Linked DNA regions of Homo sapiens: all the other regions are linked to region 3. Evidence: promoter capture Hi-C in 16 types of primary human blood cells and fetal thymus (Javierre and others, 2016). All regions are on one chromosome and are shown on one strand. The core of a region is centred on a gene start or on the middle of the fragment in contact, and the rest is flanking DNA. Distances in the headings are between cores, read along the strand shown.

What was found. Contacts are between HindIII fragments. The CHiCAGO score rates a contact against its expected background, and 5 or more counts as called.
Region 1: a fragment that was not itself captured here is called in contact with the fragment with the promoter of PSMD11 in region 3 in 2 of 17 cell types (naive B cells and non-activated CD4 T cells); the score reaches 6.9 in naive B cells.
Region 2: a fragment that was not itself captured here is called in contact with the fragment with the promoter of PSMD11 in region 3 in 2 of 17 cell types (naive B cells and naive CD8 T cells); the score reaches 5.7 in naive B cells.

The regions. Positions count from the first base shown.
Region 1 is chr17:32,600,881-32,603,808 of GRCh38, reverse strand. All of the region lies in intron 21 of MYO1D (myosin ID), which reads left to right. Among named protein-coding and RNA genes, the nearest start is that of CDK5R1, 120 kb to the right of the region's middle. The HindIII fragment of the contact is 2,527 bases long and covers 360-2,886 here.
Region 2 is chr17:32,621,346-32,624,234 of GRCh38, reverse strand. All of the region lies in intron 20 of MYO1D (myosin ID), which reads left to right. Among named protein-coding and RNA genes, the nearest start is that of CDK5R1, 140 kb to the right of the region's middle. The HindIII fragment of the contact is 2,592 bases long and covers 44-2,635 here.
Region 3 is chr17:32,443,102-32,446,010 of GRCh38, reverse strand. PSMD11 (proteasome 26S subunit, non-ATPase 11) reads right to left here and starts at 1,501. Exons shown (of 14, transcript NM_002815.4): 1 at 1,397-1,501. The coding sequence starts at 1,487. RefSeq lists enhancers at 1,412-1,491, 1,105-1,720 and a silencer at 1,612-1,781. The HindIII fragment of the contact is 4,191 bases long and covers 1-2,909 here.

The DNA.
Region 1 (2,928 bases), core at 374-2,873, 160 kb before region 3:
TCACGCCTGTAATCCCAGCACTTTGGGAGGCTGAGGCGGGCGGATCACGAGGTCAGCAGATCGAGACCATCCTGGGTAACACAGTGAAACCCCGTCTCTACTAAAAATACAAAAAATTAGCTGGGCTTGGTGGCGGGCACCTGTAGTCCCAGCTACTCAGGAGGCTGAGGCAGGAGAATGGCGTGAACCTGGGAGGCGGAGCTTGCTGTGAGCCAAGATCCCGCCACTTCACTCCAACCTGGGCAACAGAAGGAGACTCTGTCTCAAAAAAAAAAAAAAAAAAAAAAGTTTAGAATGTAAGGAAAAGACATAAAGAAGGCATCTCTGCAATAAATGTCTATAACTCAAATAAGCAAGCTTATTTTCCTGCTAATATTTATAGCAAAGTATAGAAAATTAAAGGAATTTTAATTTGTTACTCTTAATTTGGATACCAGTACTAATGAATGCAAGAGTTTTTGCCTGGGAGATTGAAGTATTTTATCTCTATCTGGGTGCTTATTTAGCAAATTCTGATCTATTAAGTGCCTTCTACAAGTGACAGAAATACGTGAACCTGGATGTAGATTTCATCAGTTGCTTTCTTTTCCTAGCTAGCATATGCATGCTGAGGTACATTTCTAGGCGTATGTCCTCTATCTTTAATGTATGTAAGGATTTTTAATTTCTTTAAAATTTATAAATGTGAAGAGAAGACTATCAAGATGCTAGGAATTTTTTGGTGGATTTTTTTTTTTTAATTCTTGGTGTTTCTATCTTATGAATTAAGAGTGAAGTGGAAATGAGAGATAAAATCTTTCCTCCCAGACCCCAGAAAAGTCAGGCTTGAAATTTTGACTTAGAGTTTTAGTCATCAACTTACTATTTACTTTTTGGGAAAAGGTTAATTTGATTTTTTCTAGCTATTTTCCTTTATTGTCAACTATCGTATCATTGCCATGACATTGAAATTCACATTGTATTTTATAAGCATGATGTTGTGGCACATAATCTTATTTGTCCCTGAGTTAATTATGGAAATCCAAAGGTTCGGGAGGGAATTAACTTCAGACCAATTCTTTATCTTCCAGATAATTTCCCTAAAGTACATTCTGAGATGTGTTCTTGTCAGCAGTTGGGAGGAAAGGGCTCAAAACTTCCCAAGGCTGAGGCAAGAACCAGCTAAGAGGACCAGAGGGAACAGTGCCCAGCCTCACAAAGAGCCAGGAGTAGTTTCTGATCTAACAAGGCAGACTAAAGAACTTCGTCATTCACAGGGTAATTGGGTACAGTATTCAGAAGGGTTTTGCCTCAGTAGGGGGGAATAATTGGCCCTAGAATAAATGCTGCTCTGGTACCACCTAATAAATCTTAAAAGCAAGACCCAAAAGGATCAAACTGCTTCCAAGTAACTTAGCTATGTCCTGAAACAAAGCTCATGTATATTTCTAAAAACACAAAAATATCCATACCCAACAGGTAAAATTCACAATGTCTGACATCCAGTCAAAGATTACGGGCATGCAAATAGGAAAATACAGTCCATTATGAGGGGGAGAATCATCCCTTTGAAACCAACCCAGAACAGACAAAGATACTAGAATTAGCAGATACAGACATTGTAAGTCATTATAACTAGATTTCAGATGTTTATAAGTTAACTAGAGATAAGGAAGATGTAAGAAAAAGACCCAAATCGAACTTCTAGATGAAAAATACACTGATGTTTGAGATATTCCATGATTTAAAAAGAAAACAAAACAAGACAAAGCATGTCCTCGAATAAATTTTTCCTCATCACCATGAGTTGAAGCCAGAACTTTCCTGGCATTTCCTTTCACATGAATCTTGAAACAAAAACCAACTAAGTATAAATTAGTCTCTCTTTCACCTCCTGCAGTCTTTATTCAATCCAGACCCATTATTTCTGCCTCTCCAAGTACACACCCACATATTTTATGTTTGCTAAAACATTTGAAGACAATCTTTAATAAAGTACAGGTATACCTCGTCTTACTGTTCTTGACATTATTACACTTCACAGATATTGTGGTTTTTATAAATTGAAGGTTTATGGCAACCCTGCATTGATCAAGTCTATTAGCACCATTTTTCCTACAGCATATGCTCACTTTATGTCTCTGGACACTGGAAGAAGATGCCATCTAGAACTTTCATAGCTAGAGAGGAGAAGGTCAATGCCTAGCTTCAAAGGACAGGCTGACTCTTTTGTTAGGAGCTAACAAATTGCCACAGCAATTTTGATAATTCTCATAATATTTCAAAACTTTATATTGTTATTAACTGCTATGGTGGGCTTTGATCAGTGATCTTTGTTATTACTGTAATCATTTCAGGGCACCACAAACTGTACCCATGTAGGACAACAGACTTAACTGATCAATGTCGTGTGCGTTCTGACTGCTCCACTGACCATCTATTCCCTCATCTCTCTTCCTCTCCTCAGGCTCCCCTATTCCCTGAGATACAACAAGATTGAAATTAGGTCAGTTAATAACCCTACAGTGGCTTTTAAATGTTCAAGTGAATGGGAGAGTTACACATCTCTCAGTTTATTTTAAAAACTAGAAATGAGCCAGGTATCATGGCTCATTCCTGCGACCCCAGCACTTTGGGAAGTTAAAGCGGGAGGATTGCTTGAGGCCAGGAGTTCCAGACCAAGGTCTGCGCAACATAGTGAGACTCCATCTCTACAAAAAAATTTAAAAGTTAGTCAAGCATGGTGGTGCACACCTGTAGTCTGTAGTCCCAGCTACTTAAGAGGCTGAATTCAAGGCTGCAGTGAGCGATGATCGTGCCACTGCACTTCAACCTGGGTGACAGAACAAGACCTTGTCTCAAAAAAAAAAAAAAAAGGGAAAAGAAAAAGCTAGAAATGATTAAGCTTAGTGAGGAACGCAGGTTGAAAGCTGAGATAGGCCAAAAGCT
Region 2 (2,889 bases), core at 90-2,589, 180 kb before region 3:
ACAAAAAAAAAAAAAAAACTTAAAGAAAAAATAAAATAAAGCTTCCTAGGTGACTGCACTATGCAGCCAGAGATGAGAACCACTTATCTATTCTGTTCCCCAAATTTTTTCACTTTTGTTGTTTTGGCTCCTTGGAAACATCTGTTAAAAGTTGGACTTGCTCCCAAATTCAGTTCTGCCATTAGAGTTTTTTATCACTTACGTATATGTGTGTGAGAGAGAGACAGAGAGACACAGAGTGCTAAGGTCTGAAGGTGTTCCCCCAAAATTCATATGTCAAAATCCTAACCCCCAAAGTGATGGAACTCGGAGATGGGACCTTTGGGAGGTTTCTACCCTCATAATGGGATTATCGACTTATACAAGAGGCCCCAGAGAGACCCTCGCCCTTTTGCCATGTGAGGACACTACGAGAAGTTGGCAGTCTGCAACCTGGACGAGGGCCACCAGCACCCTCATCTCGGACTTCTAGCTTCCAGAACCGTGAGGAGTAAATCTCTGTTGTTTATAAGCCACCAGTTTATGGTATTTTGTCATAGCCACCTAAATGGACTGAGACAGAGTTGGAGAGAGTGTGTGTTTTCTAGAAAGCCTCATGATCGCGTATCTGTATCAAAAATTAAATTTTCTTTAAGTCATTGACCATGGTTTAATGTTTGAGGACAGTCTCATCAAAAGATTTTCCTTAAACAAGAGTAGTATAAGATAAAGAAATCACCTTATATTTGATGATTTTCATTCCTTATAGTGGACCTCTGCATATATTGTCTCACTTAGCAACGACCCCCCATCCCCACCACTACCACACACATACCACTGGGAGGTGGCCTATACTGGTCCTGGACTGTAGCCATTAAATAAATGAGTTTGTTTCTTTGTTATTGGCTGAGGTCCAGAACAAACTTTCTTTACACAGAATTGTTACGATGAAGTTCTGCACTACAGGGGGAATCTGATTTTTTTAATATAATAAACATTAGAAGGATTTCATTTTATTGGAACCATATCTAAGCATAGACCTCTTTACAGTGTGCCATGGTTAGAGGTATATCTAGTGGGAACAAGTAAAGTTGACAGGCTCAGGGTCCTCTCTCCTGAGTTAGCTGAACTACTACTTTGGCTCCTGTTGAGCAGCCATTCTGCTTCTTGGGAGCCACCTCTGATGTCCGCCCTTACCATCCCCTCTGATAGCCTTTCACAAATCTTGTTGAGTTGTAAAAATATCTTATATTGCATTTAAAGATCATTACACCATAAATGGTAAAGGACAAAAGAAAAATCACACCCCAGTGGGGTCTGGCAACACAAGTGTTAGGATATTTGGAAGCAGATGGGTGGTTGTTGAATTCATGCCCCATTTTAACAGTAGCACCCATCTCAGTTGAATGTTGAGGCCCAAAATGAGGTATATGAAATAATGCGTGGAAAGTCCTCAGCATCGTTCTTATCACATAGTCAGGTGCTCTAGAATTAGAAACTGCTCTTTGCCCCCTTGCAAACTGGCAATCCCATGCCTGTAGAAATCAGAGTCGGATGAAGTCAGCTTTCAGTGCCCTCACTGTCTAATCTTTGATCTCGGTTTTCATTCCCCTGGAGTGTTCTCCCAGATAACTGAATGGCTTCCTTACTTCATTCAGGCCTCTGCCCAAATATAACTTTAAAAGGCTTGTTCAGAATGATACCCTCAGCTCCATCTTATCCCTCTGTATGCCTTTACACACTTTATTCTTCTTCACAGGCCACATCACCACCTGTCACATTATTAGAGTTCTTTTCAGTCTGGCTCCCCCACACCCCCATTAGAACATAGACTCCATGGGAGAAGGGTCGGGGACTCTCTTGTTCCCAGAACACTGCCTGCCATACAGTAGGTGTTCAATAAATGAGTGTTGATGGTTGAGCTGGAGAGGTCAAGACTGGTGACAGGAAAAGCAGTTAAGATGCTGCTTAAGAAATTACAAGGACCTGTACTCAAGCAAGGACCATAAAGAGGGGGAGATGGGTTCAAGACCTGTTTATGTGCGAGAACAACAGGCTTTGGTGCTGGTGACTCACCAAGATGGGAAATACAGGAAAAGAAGCAGGGATGTGGTAGCAGAGTGTGAGAAAGGTCAGTCTCAAATGGGCTTCATTTGAGGCAAGGCCCAATACACAGTCAAAGAGCAACCTAGGATGGAGACTGTCTTAGCATGGGGTGCTGTAACAAGAAACCACAGACCGAGTGGCTTAAACAACAGGAATCTATTTCCCAGTCTGGAGGCTGGAAGTCCAAGATCAGGGTGCCAGCATGTTTGAGCTCTGGTGAGGGCTTTCCTTTCAGTTCACAGAGGACTGGCTGCCTTCTCATTGTATCCTCACATGGGGAAGAGAGGAGGAAGCAGGTTCTGGCCTGTCTTTTCTTATAGAGACACTAATCCCAGCATGAGGGCTCCACCCTCATGACCTAATTACCTCCCATAGGCCCCACCTCCAAATACCATCACACTGGGGATTAGGGTTTCAACATATGGGAGGTCACAGACATTCTCAGTCCTTAGCAGAGACATGGATTTGGAAGCCGTGGACAAGAGCTTGGGGAGGGGCATGAGGAGAGAAAGGAGAAAGTACCTGCAAGGTAACCAGTAAGAATAAAGCTTTTAAGGCTGTAATTAAGGGTTGGCTTTGATAAGGAACACATGGGAACCATCAGTCTTCTAAGCTAGGAGAACCTTTTTAATCCATCCATAGCTTTTACTGTCTTCCACACATTCAATAAATTCTATCATCTACCACTTACCTGGCAGGTAAGGAGGGAAATAAGGACGAGAAGATGCAGCTTCTGCTTGTCGTTTAGTGGGAGAGGCAAATGCAAACAAAAATAATCACAGTGCAGCTTGTTAAATGCAAAAG
Region 3 (2,909 bases), core at 252-2,751:
CTATTAAAATTCATGCTCCTCACATTAGTTCTAAATAATAGTGTGTACTCAGAATAAAATATCCATGTAACGGTGATTGAGATGACTCTGGTTCCGTAGAAGTAACTGACCTAAGATCAGAACTTTTAAAATGAAACACCTTTTACCAATATCATTCAAAGATACACCTTGACGCCCACTTCCTCTCCTTCTCTAGTATCCCCAATGATAAAGTATCAAGATCTTGTCATTGTCCTTTCTCCGTGCAGGTCTGGAATACCAAAATTCAACACACTAAGTCAAATGCCAACATCTTGCAAGTCCCACATACAGGTGCATTCTCATACTACTTGTTGAGCCAATTCAGATCTTCCCAAACTACACTACAAAGATGCCATTACATGTGCAGTGAAGAGCTAGTCCAAGCCCTAATTGAATCCTTTATGAGTGAACATTAACGTCTTCTTCTGTCGTAATAAATTTCTGTTCACACTTGAATCCCAACAGAAAGCTGCCGGAAGCGACTGGCTGGGATTCCCATTTCAGTTTTCCTGTTGTGTGTAGGTGTAAGACCATCGTTATTACAGCGTTAAGAAATTTTAATTTTTCCGGCAACATGCAGCCGACCCGTTCCAAAGAATTCCCTGAACTCCGCGGCTGACAACTAACTCCCTTAACTCACTTCCAACCCCTACAGGCAGTCTGGAAAGATTAGTCACCTCCTCTAGCCAGGCGGTCCCGCTCCAACACCTCACTCTTACACCCTACACAGAGCAGATGAGCGTCTCGGCCACCTCCACAAACCAAATGCCAATCTGAGGTGTGTGTCACCCCTGAATTTCCCACATTCTGAAAGAGACCCTCCTCTTAGTGGAGCTTTCTGCCGTGGGGCTGAGGAGTAGCAGCTCCCAGCGTCCCGTGGAAGGAAACTCCCAGAGAAGAGCAAGCGCTCGCGCTCCCACCCGGAGCAGGCTGTGCTGATTACAACGGCGGGAAATGCCTGTCCAGAGCTGGTTTCGCCAAGGCCTTTCAAGTAGAGACTCTAGGACCAGTCCGTGACAAGCACGCCGGCCGGCACTGCTCCGGGTCCCAGACCAGCTCGTGCGGGCCAGAGCCGGGGACATGGCTAGGGAGGGATCCCCGGGGGCCCGGCTCGGCCCACTCTCCCACCCTACGCTGAGCCCCCCGTGAGTCAGCAGCCGGCGAGGGGACCCGGGGATTGCCTCAAGCCCTCCCACAAGAGTGAGACCTGGGAGGCTCTGGGGAGCTCCGAGCGGCCTGCGCCCCCGGCCCGGCCCCCCTCACACAGTGAGTCAGCAGCATCAGAGCCGGCTAGCCGGGCCCCTCTCCGCTGCCGCCGACCGACATAAGCCGAGCTGGGCCGGCGGGGCCGGGGAGGCGGCGCGGCGACCTTTACCGATGGAGTGGAGGATGTCGATGGAGGCCTCCCGGTCGGTGCTGAGTAGAGACTGGGCTCTCTGGAACTCCACCACCGCCGCCGCCGCCATCTTACCGCTCTCACACCGTCCCCGGCCGCGGCCGCCGACGCCGGAAACACACACCCGGAAAGCCCGCCCTCGGGTCCCTCCGCCTGTAGCTCCCGTGGCTCCGTTCCCAGAGCACTCCGGGAGTTGTAGTCTCTCCGCCGGGCGCGGGCTGAGGGGTGGGGAGAGCGGGACCGCCTCGCAGGTGGGCTGCAAGCTCCCCAGCGCCTCCTAGCGGGCGGCCGGCGAGGAAAAGAGGCGGTGCCCCGCAGTGGGAGCTCTAGATCGGTCCCCGCCCACCCCAAAAGAGGCTTCTTGATTCCGGCCCCGCTCGCGCACCCCTGAGAGGGGTTCCTGAGTACTGGGCTAGGTATTGAGTCAAAGCTGCGTGGCTTTCTTTGCGGCTTCCACGATTTAACCATTCATTCGGGACGATAAGTGACCTTATAAAGTGCTCGCTATGTGGCAAAGAATAGCACCATTCGAATGCGTTCCAGTGTCTGACGCCTGTGCGCCGCACACACGCTTTCCAGGCTTGACTCCCGCAGAACGCTGGCCGGCAGGTGGGCAAACCCGCCAGGACCGGAGAAAACTGTCCTCACGCGCCCATTTAACCTTGGGACAGTGCTGGACGTGATGAAGTGAAACATCACCTTTGCTCCATTCACGCCACAAATACCTCTTGGGAATCCACAGAAGCCTCACCCAGCTCCCCAGCTCAAAGAAAAAAAAAAAAAAAGGAAGGAAGGAAGGGAGGGAGGGAGGGACGGAGGAAGGAAAAAATTGAATTATTCTTCCCAATATCTTCAGCCCCTTCAACTAAAGTCACAGATATCAGTGAAGACGTCGTGTGGACGGAAAAATGACATTCTATGAGACCACTTAGGGTTAAACTTAAGAAAGGTGCTAAAAGGATACAAAGACAATTCAGTATTAAGGAAGACCTTTCTCTAGGTGATGACGATCCAAAAATGGAATGTGCTGTCCCATAAAAGGAGGCAAAAAGGGGACTAACATTGCACACCCTCCTCTGTAAGTGGATTAGGCCATTTATATTCCTCTATCTCCTTTTATTCTCCCAACAATGTTCTGTAAAGCAGATATTTACTCCCCTTTAATATGTGAGGAAACAGGGGTTTGAGTTATTTGGTGAAGCTCAAATCGTGATTGGGAGAGATAAGAGCTGCCGGTTAGGGAATGCCTTCCTAATTCCTGGGTGTGTTCACGTGAAAAGTAGTTGACATCTCATCAGGTTGTTGTAAACAGGATTCATGACTTTGATGGAGAGTTGGATTAAATGGCTTCTAGCAAGGCGCGGTGGCTCATGCCTGTAATCCCAGCACTTTGGGAGGGCGAGGTGGGCATATCGCTTGAGCCCAGGAGTTTGAGACTAGCCTGGGCAACATAGACCCCCGACTCTACTAAAAATACAAAAATTATCCGGGC